2 separate regions of the Homo sapiens genome follow, and region 2 is linked to region 1. The links are contacts of gene promoters, found by promoter capture Hi-C in blood cells and fetal thymus (Javierre and others, 2016). All regions are on one chromosome and are shown on one strand. The core of a region is centred on a gene start or on the middle of the fragment in contact, and the rest is flanking DNA. Distances in the headings are between cores, read along the strand shown. Region 1 holds the start of ARL6IP5 (ARF like GTPase 6 interacting protein 5). Region 2 has its middle 54 kb from the start of KBTBD8.

Evidence for each region. Contacts are between HindIII fragments. The CHiCAGO score rates a contact against its expected background, and 5 or more counts as called.
Region 2: a contact is called between a fragment that was not itself captured here and the fragment with the promoter of ARL6IP5 in region 1, in 1 of 17 cell types (total B cells). The highest score is 10.3, in total B cells.

The regions. Positions count from the first base shown.
Region 1 is chr3:69,079,085-69,086,186 of GRCh38, reverse strand. ARL6IP5 (ARF like GTPase 6 interacting protein 5) reads right to left here and starts at 1,250. Exons shown (of 3, transcript NM_006407.4): 1 at 964-1,250. The coding sequence starts at 1,139. UBA3 (ubiquitin like modifier activating enzyme 3) reads left to right here and starts at 5,822. Exons shown (of 18, transcript NM_003968.4): 1 at 5,822-5,853; 2 at 6,034-6,075. The coding sequence starts at 5,834. RefSeq lists enhancers at 1,170-1,479, 3,087-3,246, 4,051-4,110 and silencers at 5,714-5,783, 5,904-5,993, 6,114-6,343. The HindIII fragment of the contact is 15,418 bases long and covers 1-2,096 here.
Region 2 is chr3:67,048,932-67,056,033 of GRCh38, reverse strand. No RefSeq gene overlaps it. Among named protein-coding and RNA genes, the nearest start is that of KBTBD8, 54 kb to the right of the region's middle. The HindIII fragment of the contact is 3,970 bases long and covers 2,199-6,168 here.

The DNA of each region.
Region 1 (7,102 bases), core at 1-2,500:
TTTCTCCCAAGCCAGCTTGCTGCTTCTTCCCTCTACGTCTGCCCTGAAATAGAAATGTCAGACATTTAAGTGCAAGTGAGTCCTTTATAAAGTCTGAGGGTGGCTTTTTCTTTAAAGATGTGTAGGAGATAATCAGCAAGATTGAGAATATCACCACCCATCCTGCATAAGCGAGAGAAGCATTTCTTAAAGGGTGAACTAGAAGGAAAGGTGGTTTCTAGGAAAGCAGGTGTACATGCAGTCTCAACACAGGATACTTTGTTAAGTATCAGGTATTGAAAAGGCCTTCTGATACATTGAAACCTCAGGCTAGGAAGCGAAGACAGAGAAAGTGACCACGCCTGGCCACTGCTGGAAGAAAATGCCAGAAGGCCATCTTCCCACAGTCATGGCAGCCTTTACCCCACAATGGGAGATGCGCCACCAGGAGACACCCCCCCTTTTGATCCCAAGCTCAGCTTTACTGTACAGTGTGGCAGGCATTAGGCAGAGAAAGCAGCAAAGTGCGTCGCCACTTGGTTGCCCTTTTTACACTAGCCCGGGTCCACACCCTGCCGCCCCAGCCAGCTCCAGGGTAGGGTTACACCACTTTCCTTTTTCTTCTTATTTTTAAAAGACGAGGGCGCTACAAATATCTTTCCAGCAAGAGCCCGATCCTGGCACGCGGGCGGGGGCAGGGGGGTGGGGGAACTCTCATTTTTCTTCCCTGCGGCTGGCAAATTTTCCCCGTCCTCTTTCCCCTAGGGCCCCCCTCAAGTCTCAGCCCTTGGTGCAGAAAATGGGGCCCCAGGTTACTGCGGCCTCGCCCTGCAAACAAGTTTCCACTGGCTTGGCCGCTTGCAGAATTGCCAGGGCAGGCGCTGAGCGTGGTCAGAGAGCGTCTCTACATCCCGGGATCTTGCACCCCGAGGCCCCTCCGTGCTCGCCCCGGATCGGTGTCCCGGGTAGGGGGACCCCACTTACCCCACAATGGAAATCATCATGGCAGCCACCACCAGGTAGTTGGTCTGGTAATAGAGCAGGTTGCTCACTACGCGGTTGTTCCATTTGGAAATGTCCCTGAAGTCCGGCCGGGCAAAGCGATCGGAACCCGGGAAGAAATCGTCCCAGGCGCGGAGTGGGGCGATATTAACGTCCATGTTCTCAGCTTTGCGTTCTTCGCCTCCAGAATCTGGCGGCGGCGGCGGCGGCAACCGATCAGCTGAGCTGAGTTGGAGAGTTGACAGCGGCTCCGTCTCGGTCGGCTTTGCGGTTGGCAGACAGCAGAGCAAAGGAAATTGGGAGTGGGCGGGCGTGTTTGCTCCTCTTTACTTCTTCATTGGCTCTTGGTTGGGTACAGGAAAACAGGAACCTCCAGACAGAACAAGGGACTGAGTGCAGAATAGAGACGAAATGACAGAAAGCAACTAGCGGAAATCCCCTGTCTGAAGGGAGGTGGCAATGCCTTCTCTAGCAGCAGAGAAGCTGCCTCCTTCGAAATACCTTTTTTGAAGGTTTACCTAGGAGTGTGTTCTCTGACTTAGAGAAAAATTTTGGCAGCTGTGCAGATGCCAATCTAAGTGAAATGAAATGGAAGGCGACTACAGTGTTAATGGAGAATGAGCTGCTTTTGAAAACTAAGTCTTACTAACCTCTACACATCTGAATGCAATTCCCATGTTTTCTCTGTTTCACCATGAGTCACTATGTGTGAAATCAGATTGGCAAAACGGGAAAGAAGGTCATGTAGAACAGAAGGGCTGGTCTGTTTTTTTCACTTCTCTTCTTTGTTCTCCACCTCTGTTCTCTCTAGGCTAAATTGTTGGACTGCTATGCCATTCTGATAAAGTAGGCACTCTGGCCACTTCAGTCCTGAGCTGGGCATGTTGCTTACATTTTAAAGCAAACAGTTGTCTGCAGTGAACTAGTTGTTCTGCATCCAGCATTTTCTGGGCAGAAATATGCATTCCACTTCAAAAGTTTTCTTAGTTTTATTGCAATATTTGGTGACAGCTTTCACTGAGGGACCACAATATATTCATAGATAACGTGATGTTTTGTATCCCAGCCCAAAGACCTGGCAAAAGAAGTATTCGTTGTCAATTCTCTTCTAAGCTTCCAAGGGTCATCTTTTTTCAGTTAAGGGGCTGATTGGTACAATGCATGAGAAAAAAAGTAGTTTGTTTAATTGTATAATGTAATAGGTAGAATTCTAAGGTGAAGATTTCTAAGATAACAGAGTCTCTAAGCCCCTAAGTGGCTTAGACAAGGTGAATTCACTCTACTCAGATCACCAATTTTTGAAAACTTGGAAAGTAATGAAATATACTAATGCAAAGTCTAGAAAACATAATTTAATTTTCCTTATTAATTCAGAAGACAGTTAAGGAGCTTACAGCGACTCTAAGAAATTACTACTACTACTGTTGTTTAGGAAAATTTGGTGATTGCATGGAATTAGTGCTAAGATATATCTTATGTGCTGCTTTTTGAATAAAGTTTAAAATGTGAAAATATTCCTGAGTGCTCATGTTTTCTTGATTCTGGAAAAATGGGATGGTGTGAAGTCAGAGAAAGCAAAATTAGAGTCGCAGCTCCTTCCTCTCTGGCAGGTGACTTTGGAGAAACTACTTAATCTCTCCCAGCCTCGGTGTCTTCATGTGTAAAGTGGGGATAATGGAACATCTGCCATATAGACGAGGCTAAGTGAAGGAATGTATAGGAAATGCTTAGTGTATAATAAAGGTTCACAGTTATATGTTACTATTATTGTTATTAGCAATAGGATAGCCCACGATTCTTGTTTGCTATTAATAGTGCTTTAATCTGATTTGTTTTCTATGCTTTCATTATAAACATCTACTAACTTTTCTCTACCTTGCTCCAACTTTATTGTTGTGGATGTATCTGGGTAGGGGGAAAAGGTTGAGAATATTCAGTACAATGCCAGCAAGTATTTCGAGTTCTTTTGAGGCTCTGTGAAAGCACTGTGGGTTTTTTTTCTTTTCTTTTCTTTTTTTTTTTAAAGAGGAGAAAAATGTAATCCTGCTCTGCCTTCAAAACTTCTGCAATCCAGTGGAAACACTAGTTAAATATGAGACAGTAAGAGGAGTGCTAAATAGAGATGCACTGAGCCTCAGTGCTCAGTTACAGGAAGTCAGAGGGTGTGGAGGAATTCCCCAGGGCTTCAGAATGTCAAGAGGCAGCACTGTGGGCAAGCTGAGTAAATCATCTTGGTCAAGATGAGAGTGGGAACTCCAGTGGGGCCCCACACTGTTGGTGAGATTTATGAGTATTAGAAGCTGTAACTAAGAACTTTATCTTCCAACTGCTCAGAACTGCATGACCAAAAGCTGTCAAGAGTGTATTAGTAACAATATGATTACTCCTTGATCACAGGCAATTGATACCCAAGAAAGAATTAAACCTCTTTAGAGGTTTAAACATAAATAAATAAATTCTGAAAAGACAGAGAAAGCTGTTTATAGCATGATTCCCTTCTGTCTCCCTCCCAAAATGTTAACCCTGTCTCTCTCTTTGGGGTATGGGAGATTTTTTTTTTCTCTAAATATTTCTACCTTTGTTAAATTATTTTAAATAAAAATGAACATGTAATGAGTCATTACTTTTTTCCAGTAACTGTTTGAAATGCTATTAGTAGCAGCTCTTTGTTAGTGTTCATTCCGGGGAGGGAGGGGTCAGATTCACTGTAGAGGTCTTTCTGGAGCTTTAATTTATTATTATTTTTAGAGACAGGGTCTCACTATGTTGCCCAGGCTGGTTTTAAACTCCTGGGCTCAAACAGTCCTCCCACCTCAGCCTCCCAAGTAGCCGGGACTACAGGTGTGGGAAGCCGAGCCCTGCTTGATGGGGCTTTTATAATGGGACTGGTGTGTCTAGATAGGACCATTCAGACTATCTGTCTGTTTAAAAACCATAGCAGATAGTCTAATTGTTTATGATATGTTCCATTTGAAGTAAAATAAATCTGTTGAAGGTTTTGCTTGCATGTCTCTGTTGCTTTCATTCCTGGCAAGGGCAGATGGCTATTTCTAATCCGTCAATCAATCTAAGCCAGTGAGAGTGCCTGGTGTCGTTTATCAAAATACCACCATGGTGAGTCAGGCTGTTAGTCTCAAAGCAAGCAGATGCAGGGCCAGATACCTTTGCAGACTTCTTCATCGGCTAGCTGTACTCTATCCCTAGGCCTCAGTTTCCTCCCCTGTGAAATGGGTGAGACTGGACTAGGTGGCCTTTAAGGTGACTGCTGCTTTTCACTATCTGAGAGGGTTGCAATGCTCACTACCACTAATCAAAGGGTATCCAGTATTGTTGGGGGTTCAGGCTACAGGAGCCCATTTTGATAAGCACTGAGGTTAAATCCTCAGTGAAACCATCTGTGGAGTTGTCTGGGCAAGAAAAAGTAGTTTCATAGTTGACGCTGAGACATGTGATGCAGAAGGAGGCTGGTATCTCTTGATAGGGACTGTGAACTCTATTCCCACGCTCACTGCCTGGCATTGACTTTCAGCTCAGTGAATGCTATTGAACTGAACCTAATTGGGGGACCATAAAGGACAAGCTTTCCTTAAGGTTCACTGAAAACTAGGACAAGAGGAGGTTAAATATCACAGTGTAGTAACAGCAGCTACATTTACTGAGTACCCATCAGGCTTTATGTACTCCATTTCAGTGGCCCTCAAACTTTACCAGTGGAGAATCACCCCAGGCTTTGCAGAAGGCTGAAGGGTGGGGTGGCGGGGGGGCGGTGGGGAGCGTGGTGGGGGCGGTGAGGGGTGAAAATTTGTGTTAAAAAAAACTTCCCAAGTGATGTTGATCAGGAACTGTATTTTGAGAGCCACTCTGGATTTTACTTAATTATCAGTCTTACAAGGTGAATAGTGTTATGCCCACTTTATAAATGAAGAAATAGAAGTGTCTAAGGGTTTCGTAGCTCACAACTGAGAAGAATTTAAAATCAGTTACTTTTGATTCCAAATATCATTCTTGTCCCACTCCATAGAAGGAGATGTGTGTGTACGTGTATATACATACATTTTTGAACATGATCATTTCCCTCTATCCAGCCATCCAGATTCACAGTGTATATTTGTATTTCTGACTCTAGAAGAAAATAATTGAAACTTTTATCACAATTTATCTTTAGGTGATAGGATTATGGGTGTTCTCAGTTATTCTTTGATTTTTGTGATTGTTTTCCTTTATACTTTTTTCTTTGTATCTAAATATACACATTTATCTCAGGAAAAGTTTTAATCATTTTGTTTCCGCTGAACTTATCTAACAGAATGTGACATGAAAATATTAATGCTGATTTGTTCAAAGAAAATAATAATCTCCCACCCCACCAATGTAAACGGATTTAGATAAATTTATTATTCAAGTGAGTACTTATAAAGGCAAAGACTTTGGAACCATCCTGAAAAGCAGAAAGTGAAAATTTCCTTGATCTTTGCCCCCAGAGGAAAGCTCTGGCATACTGGGAGGGTTCTTCACGAATTTTTCATAGAATATACCAATATTTTGTATAATTACGTATTAACATATAGTTTGTGTAAACGCATAATGTATTGTCTACATTTTCACGCTGCAGAGCAACATTATGCACGGTATAAGATTCACCTAATTAAGCGTAGGTAATTAAGATTATAATTACAGGGCAAGACTTTAAAGCCCATGGGAGCCCAGCCGCAGTCAACCTCGCACCTCCCTGCCGGTTGTGTTTCTGGCCTCGCCCCTCCCCGCTTCGCCAGCCCCGCCCCTCCCCGCTTTGCCAGTCCCGCTCCTCCCCGCCCTGCCGCGCGTGGGCACCTGGGAAGAGGCGGAGAACAATATGGCGGATGGCGAGGAGCCGTAAGTACCGGGGCTCTGCAGACGCGCCGGGCTGGGCTGGGTTGTGAGAGAGCGCGGCGGTGGGCGGTTGCCGCCGCCACCCGGGGTCCCCACACCCCCCGCCCCGTCCCCTCGCCCCCCTCCCCTCGCGGCGCCCAGTGTGTAGCGCGATGCTGACCCTTCTTTTATTCTCTCTTTTAGGGAGAAGAAAAGAAGGAGAATAGAGGAGCTGCTGGCTGAGAAGTTAGTGCTGCCGGGAGGCCGGGGCCCTCTCCGGGGACCCCCGCCTCCCCCCACCCCAGGCCTAGGGGACCAGCCGCAGCGGGCCCGGGGGGCTGGGAGGGGGACACCCGGAGCGCAGGCCGCGCTGCCTCATCCCCTGATCCCCGCCCCGCAGCCCCGGGGGCCTGGCGGGCCGCTCCCGGTATCTGCCCGGTGCGGGCGTCGGGGCCAGGCTGTACTGCCCCAGCTCCTGCAGGGGCCCTCCGGGGTGCTTGACGTAAAGGTCTTGAGGAAGGACCCTTGTGCACTCCTCTTCCTCCATCCCAAATTGTCAGAGCAGTGACCCTGTGAAAAGGCAATCTACCTTAAACACACAGGAAAAGGACACAAGACCGTTTTGTGGCCTTTTGCAAACACTGAGACAGTAGTACTAATTGCAAACTTTTAATGATAACTCTACATGTCAGGTATTGTACTAAGCACTCCAGTCATTTTGGCAGAATAATTGGCTCTTAAAAGATCTGGAAAGAGGTTGTTGACTTCAAACAGCCTATTTATCCCTTTTACTACACACCCTATTTCTTATCAGATGCTTAATTCTATGCTGGTGAGACAGATTTAATCGAAGTGTTTTCTAACCTGGCCAGCGCCACATAATTTACTCCCCTCCCTGCCTGGGCAGGGAAAAAATACTCTTGCATTGGTTATGGTGAGTTTGTAAATTTCCGTGCCGATTCCCAGTAGCAGTGCTTTGATCTTTATGTGTGTCCCTCAGTTGAATTTCAGCTGCAAGAGGACCGGGATGACAAACTTAATTTCACATTCTTTCCTGCCTTTTATTTCCCTCCCACTTTTACATGAAATCACAATTAAACATTGCTTACCATATCCCACGTACTGTACTGAGTCTTCTGTGTGATTATCTATATCCTCATGGCTGAAAGAAGTAGCTATGAACGGCCTGCAGATGAGGTTTATGTCTATTAAGTAATCTGCTCAAGGTCACAGTGCTGTTAATTGTGGAACCCAACACAACTCTGACATCAAA
Region 2 (7,102 bases), core at 2,934-5,433, 2.0 Mb after region 1:
TTATCAAGGAGAATGAGGGGCATTACATAGTGATATGGATCAGTTCTCCAAAAAGACATAACTATCCATAATGTGCACATGCCTAACAACAGAGCATGAAAATATGAGATAAAACCGATAGCTCTGCAGAAAGAAGTAGAAGAATCCACTATTATAGTTGGGTAACTTCAACACCCCTCTTTCAGAAATGAACAGATCTTGCAGACAGAAAATCAGTAAGGACGCATGCACTCAAAAACATCATAGTTGAACTCAAAAACATCATCAATTAACTGAATATAATTGACATCTCTACATTACTTCAACAACAGAATGTGCATTCTTCTCAAGCTCATATGGAACATTCACTAAGGTAGACCACATTCTCTGCCATAAAACATACCTTAACAATTTCAAAAGAATAAAAATAATACAGTGTATTATTTCTCTCAGACCCACTAAAATGTCTAAAATTTAAAAAGAAGAGCTATAACAAATGTTGACAAGAATGTGGAGAAACTGTCACCCTCATACATTGCTAGATGAATTATAAAATGGCACAGTCACTTTGTATGTATCTATGTATTGTAGAGAAGGCTCTAGCTATGTTGCCTAGGCAGGTATCAAACTCCTGGCCTGAAGTGATCCTTCTGAAGCACTGGGATTACAGGCATGAGCCACCATGCCCAACTTACACAGTCACTTTAAAAAAACAGTTTTGGAGCTCCCAAAAATGTTAAACATAAAATTACACTAGAACTTGTAAATTAACTATTTGGTTTATGCCCAAGATAAGTGAAAACATATGTCTACATAAAAATTTATACATAAATATTCATGGCAGCATATGGCCATAAAAGTGGAAATAATTGAAGTGACCTCCATCTGATAAATGAATAAGCAAAATATAATATGTGCAAACAAAATATTATATATTCATGCAATAGAATCTTATTTGACAATAGAAAATAATGAAGTAATGATACATGCTACCACATGGATGAACCTTGAAAACATTATGCTAAGTGAAAAAAAGCTAGTCACAAAAGGACAAATACTGTATGATTCCATTTATATAAAATGCCCAGAATAGACAAATCAGTAGAGACAGAGACTGGATTAGTGGTTACTAGGGGCTGGGGGAAGGAAAGAGGGGAATTACTGCTAATGGGTATGGGTTTTTTAGGAGTGATGAAAATGTTCTGGAATTAGATAGTGCTTGTACGACTCCATGAATATATTAAAAACTCCTGAATTACACACTTTAAATAGTGAATTTTGTATGATACAGGAATTATTTCTCAAAAAAGCTATTGTAACAGAAACATAATACACTGAGTAAGTATAGGTTCTAAAAAAGTATCTCATCTACATGGCTCCTATATACAGAATTATCAGGCTGTTATATTATGAAATTAAAGACTGAATCCCTCTTAGACTTTGCTAGTATTCCAATGCAAGGTCTGGAAGCTATGTCCACCAAGGCACTAATGCTTTGAGAAGTTGAAACAAATGGTTCCTTCCAATGGACTGGCCAAGCTATCAGAAATAATATTGGGCCAGGCTCATTGGCTCACACCTATAATTCTGACATTTTGGGAGGCCAAGGTGGGAGGATTACTTGAGCCCTGGAGTTTGAGACAAGTCTTGGTAATATGGCAAAACCCCATCATGAAACACACACGAAAAATAGCTGGACTGGGGTACGCAACTGTAGTCCCAGCTACTGGGGAGGCTGAAGTAAGAGGATCACTTGAGCCCAGGAAAATTTTATTTTAAAAACCCCATAGAGTCAATTAAAAGTCTGTTCGAATTAAACACACACACCCTAGTAGCTTTTCAATGTATCAATCAGAAAATATAATTTAAAAAGAAAAAGACAAATCTCACACACTATCCATCTATCCATCCCATTAACAATAAAAGCAACGCTGTATTCCTAGGAATACAACTTACAAGGCGCATGAAGGACCTCTTCAAGGAGAACTACAAACCACTACTCAAGGAATAAGAGAGGACACGAACAAATGGAAAAACATGGATAGGAAGAATCATGAAAATGGCCATACTGCCCAAAGTAATTTACAGATTCAATGCTATTCCCATCAAGCTACCTTTGACTTTCTTCACAGAATTAGAAAAAACTACTTTAAATTTCATATGGAACCAAAAAAAAAGCCCATATATCCAAGACAATTCTAAGCAAAAATAACAAAGCTTCATGCTACCTGACTTCAAGCTATATTACAAGGCTACAGTAGCCAAAACAGCATGATACTGGTACCAAAACCAGATATATAGACCAATGGAACAGAACAGAGCCCTCAGAAATAACACCAAGCATCTACAACCATCTGATCTTTGACAAACCTGACAAAAATAAGCAATGGGGAAAGGATTCCCTATTTAATAAATGGTGTTGGGAAAACTGGCTAGCCATATGCCGAAAACTGAAACTGGATCCCTTCCTTACACCTTATACAAAAATTAACTCAAGATGGATTAAAGAGTTAAACGTAAAACCTAAAACCATAAAAACCCTTCCAGGAAACCTAGGCAATACCATTCAGGACATAGGCATATGCAAAGTCTTCATGGCTAAAACACCAAAAGCAATTACAACAAAGCCAAAATTGACAAATGGGTTCTAATTAAACTAAAGAGCTTCTGCTCAGCAAAAGAAACTACCATCAGAGTGAACAAGAAACCTACAGAATGGGAGAAAATTTTTGCAATCTATCCATCTGACGAAGGTCAAATATCCAGAATCTACAAGGAGCTTAAACAAGTTTACACGAAAAACAAACAAACAACTCCATCAAAAAGTGGGCAAAGGATATGAACAGATACTTCTCAAAATACGACATCTATCTGGCCAACAAACATGGAAAAAAAGCTCATCGTCACTGGTCATTAGAGAAATGCAAATCAAAACCACCATGAGATACCATCTCATGCCGGTTAGAATGGCGACTATTAAAAAGTCAGGAAACAAAAGATGCTGGCAAGGCTGTAGAGAAATAGGAATGTTTTTACACTGTTATTGGGAGTGCAAATTAGTTCAACCATTGTGGAAGACAGTGTGGCGATTCCTCAAAAATCTAGAACCAGAAATACCATTTGACCCAGCAATCCCATTACTGCGTATACACCCAAAGGATTATAAATCATTCTACTATAAAGACACATGCACACGTATGTTTATTGCAGCACTATTTACAATAGCAAAGTCTTAGAACCAACCCAGATGCCCATCAATGATAGACTGGATAAAGAAAATGTGGCACATATATGCCATGGAATACTATGCAGCCATAAAAAGAATGAGTTCATGTCCTTTGCAGGGATATGGATGAAGCTGGAAACCATCATCCTCAGCAAACTAACACAGGAACAGAAGACCAAACACCTCATGTCCTCACTCATAAGCGGGAGTTGGGCAATGAGAACACATGGACACGGTGGGGGACCATCACACCCTGGGGCCTGTTGGGGAGTGGAGGGCAAGGGGAGGGAGAGCAGTGGGAGAAATACCTAATACATGTGGAGCTTAAAACCTAGATGATGGGTTGATGGCTACAGGAAACCACCATGGCACATGTATACCTATGTAACAAACCTGCATGTTCTGCACATGTATCCTAGAACTCAAAGTAAAATTTAAAAAAAATAAGGTTAAAAAAATAATAATTAAAAAAAATTTATCCCAACTCTGATTAAGGACCTGTTAAGGCTGCATCTGTGTTTTTCTTATTGGCTCTACTGATAAGTTAACATACTGTTATCATAGGATGAATTATTTTAATATATTGGCTAATTCTATTGCTAATTATTCTTTTTTAGTGCACCCTATACCTATAAGTGAGAAAAAGCTATAGAAACATTTTAATGCCATCTTTGACACATGTAGATTTCAAGGTTTGCTAGCTTTGGAAAATGACCTGGGTAGCTTTCCATATTTTTCTGTGGTGGGGAATCATATATATATATGTATATATATATATGTGTGTATATATATATGTGTGTGTGTATATATGTGTATATATATATGTGTGGGTATATATATGTATTTCGTCTTAAATAATTCACTCATAATACTATTCGATGCAAGAGCCTTTGATACCATCCTTAATTTTTCCCTTGTTTGCCTTTTATTTGGGTTTCCTATTTCTTCTTAAGTTTTATATGTATATTTTTAAGAAGATTTATTTCTTTTTTTGTTTTCAAATGTGTTCACATACCAGTGTGTGTATTAGTCTCTTTTCATTTTTACTTCTCTATTTCTTTCTGTAGGTATGCCTTTTTTATTTCTAATATCACTTATTAGGTTTTATTGTTTGTTCTCTTTAATGTTCTAGAAATTTTTCTATTTTCTTTGTTTTTCTAAAGACCCAGTTTTGAAAGTATTGATTTCTACAATCATCTTTGTTATTTCCTTCAGCTACTTGCCTCAGGTTTTATAGGAATTATTCTGAATTAACTCTTGAAGTAAGTGCATTAAAGACAATCAATTTTTGTCTAAAGAACATATTGGCCATATTCTATAAGTCCTGCTATGTAATGTTTAGCTTTTTTATTTTTTAAATCAGTTTTTTAATTTTAAAAAAATTTTTATCAATTGTTATTTTGGAAAATAAAATATTTTAAGTAGTTCAAATTTTTAGTTTTGAGCATCTATCGTTAATTTATCTTTAAAGTGTACAGCTATTATTTTATTGCTTAGTTATGAAATGATTAAAATAAGCAGAAAAAATACAGAAGATAATATAATATATATTTATGTCCTCATTACTCCAAATGATAGATGTTAATTTTGCCATGCTTGCTTCAGCAATTGTTTTTATGAAATAAAATATTACAGAGAAGAGTGAATGTCCTCTTTTCTTTCCCCTATTCCAATCCCCTCCATGTTTCTCTCTCCAAAGATGACCTCTATTCTGATGATGGCTTATATCTTTCCTGTCCATATTTGTATATTTTTCTGCATAAACTATATCTTAATATTTTTATACAAGTTGAATAATAAACATTGTGAAACTTGCTCTTCACTGAACATCATATTTTGATATGTATTGGGTATATTTATTCATTTTAGATACCATATAGGATTTTGTCATTTATGTGGCCATTCATCTAGTTGTTTCCATTGCTGTAATGAATACCTTTATAATGTCTCCTTATGCATATGTGCAAAAGTCAAGGAATATACCTGAATGTGGATAGGTTTATTTTCTTTACCAAGTGTTACCAAATTGCTTTCCCAAGTGGTTTTACCAATTTATACTTCTGCCAGAAGTTTATGAAAATTCCCTCTTTCTCTACAAGCTAAAACCTGGTATTAATAGACTTGTAAATTTTGAAGTATAAAATGTGGTCATTGTTGTTTTAGTTTGAATTCCCCACATTCCTAGTGAGGTTGGACATCTTTTAATATGTTTATTTGAGTTTTCTCATCTGTGAATTACCTGTTCATATTATTTGCCCATTTTTTAATTGCGTTGTCTTCTTATTGACTTGTAGGAGTTTACAGTTTCTAGATAGGAATGCTTTTTCTTATAAGTCTTGAAATATCTTTTTCCCTTTTGTCGTCATTTTTTAACTTAGTTTACAGTGTCTTTTTTTACATACAAGTTTTTAATTTTCATGTGTCAGATTTACCAATCATTTCTCTTGTGATCTGTTCATTTTTGCTCCAGTGCTATCTAAATCCATGTTTGTATTGCTATAAAGGAATACCTAAAACTGGGTAAGTTGTTAAGAAAAAGAGCTTATTTCGCTCACAGTTTCACAGCCTGTACAAGAAGCATGGCATCAGCATCTGCTTCTGGTGAGGGCTTCAGGCTGCTTCCGCTCATAATGGAAGGTGAAGGGGAGTTGGCATGTGCAGAGACACATGGAAAGAGAGGAAGCAACGGGGTGGCAGGGATGTTCCAGGCTCTTTTTTATCTTTATTTTTATTTTATTTTTTCACCAGGCTCTTTTTTGTTCTTATGGGAACTAATAGAACAAGAATTCACACATTATCTCAAGGATAACACCAGGCCATTCATGAGGGATCCACTCCCATGACTCAAACACCTTATTAGGAATCACATTTTAATATGAGATTTGGAGGGGTCAAACAACCAAATCTTAGCAAATGACACAAAAATATTCCCCTAACTCCTTTTAAAAAATTGCGTAGAAGCTTTGCTTTTCACATGTAAGTCTTTCACCCACCTGAATCATTTTTTGTATATTGCATGAAGCAAAATGAGGGAGAAAGAATGGATAAAATCATTAGTCCTCTATACTTCCTGTCAAAGATGAGACAGCCTATGTGCCTTACCTTTGAATAGAATGTCTGATTAACCATGCTAACTCATGCCTTCAAATTTTGTGACAATTTCACCTGCTCCACTTATTTCAGGGCTTTCTAATGTAAATAAAGAAGATTTTGTTTTTCTGGAAGTTGCAATATATGGCAAAGCACTTCTTTTTTCCTATGTGATAAGTAAGATGGGAAATAGTAAATGGAAGAAAAAAATCAACTCTATCAAGGCTGTTGCTTTGCTGCAGTCAACGGGGAGCTATATTGGAACTGAAGAACTGATCAGCAAAGAAAGAATGGGAAAAAGATAAATGTGTTGTCACTTGAGTCAGATAATCGTAGTTTGACTACTATTTAACTTCAGTTTAATGTGGCTTAATTTTTTTTAAGCAATGTGAGTTTCCAGAATGAAAGTCACACTCAAGTATATATGTATAAGTACACTCCAAAAACAAGAATAAATAATTATTTCAATTTTTCCCACTTGGATAAATGGGCATTCTTCTTATCCTTTATTAGGATAGCAGTAAGTAATAATTAGTTATTTAGCAGAGCCTTCTATTTGTACATTGGTGAAAAATGGGGTTTCTACAATACCAGGAACATGCTAACACAGCTTTTTCCCATATCTGGTTATGTGAATGGATTTACTTAATAGATATTTCTTAAGTGTTTTCTATCCAGCTAAAACATATCTGAACAAGAAGGCAGAACTTGCCTGACTAAATCTGGCTGTCCAGCAAACCCTTTAGTTGTATGCAACTCCAATGCAGTAGTGTGTCTCCCTCGCACCTAAGCTAATGAGTCCTCTGA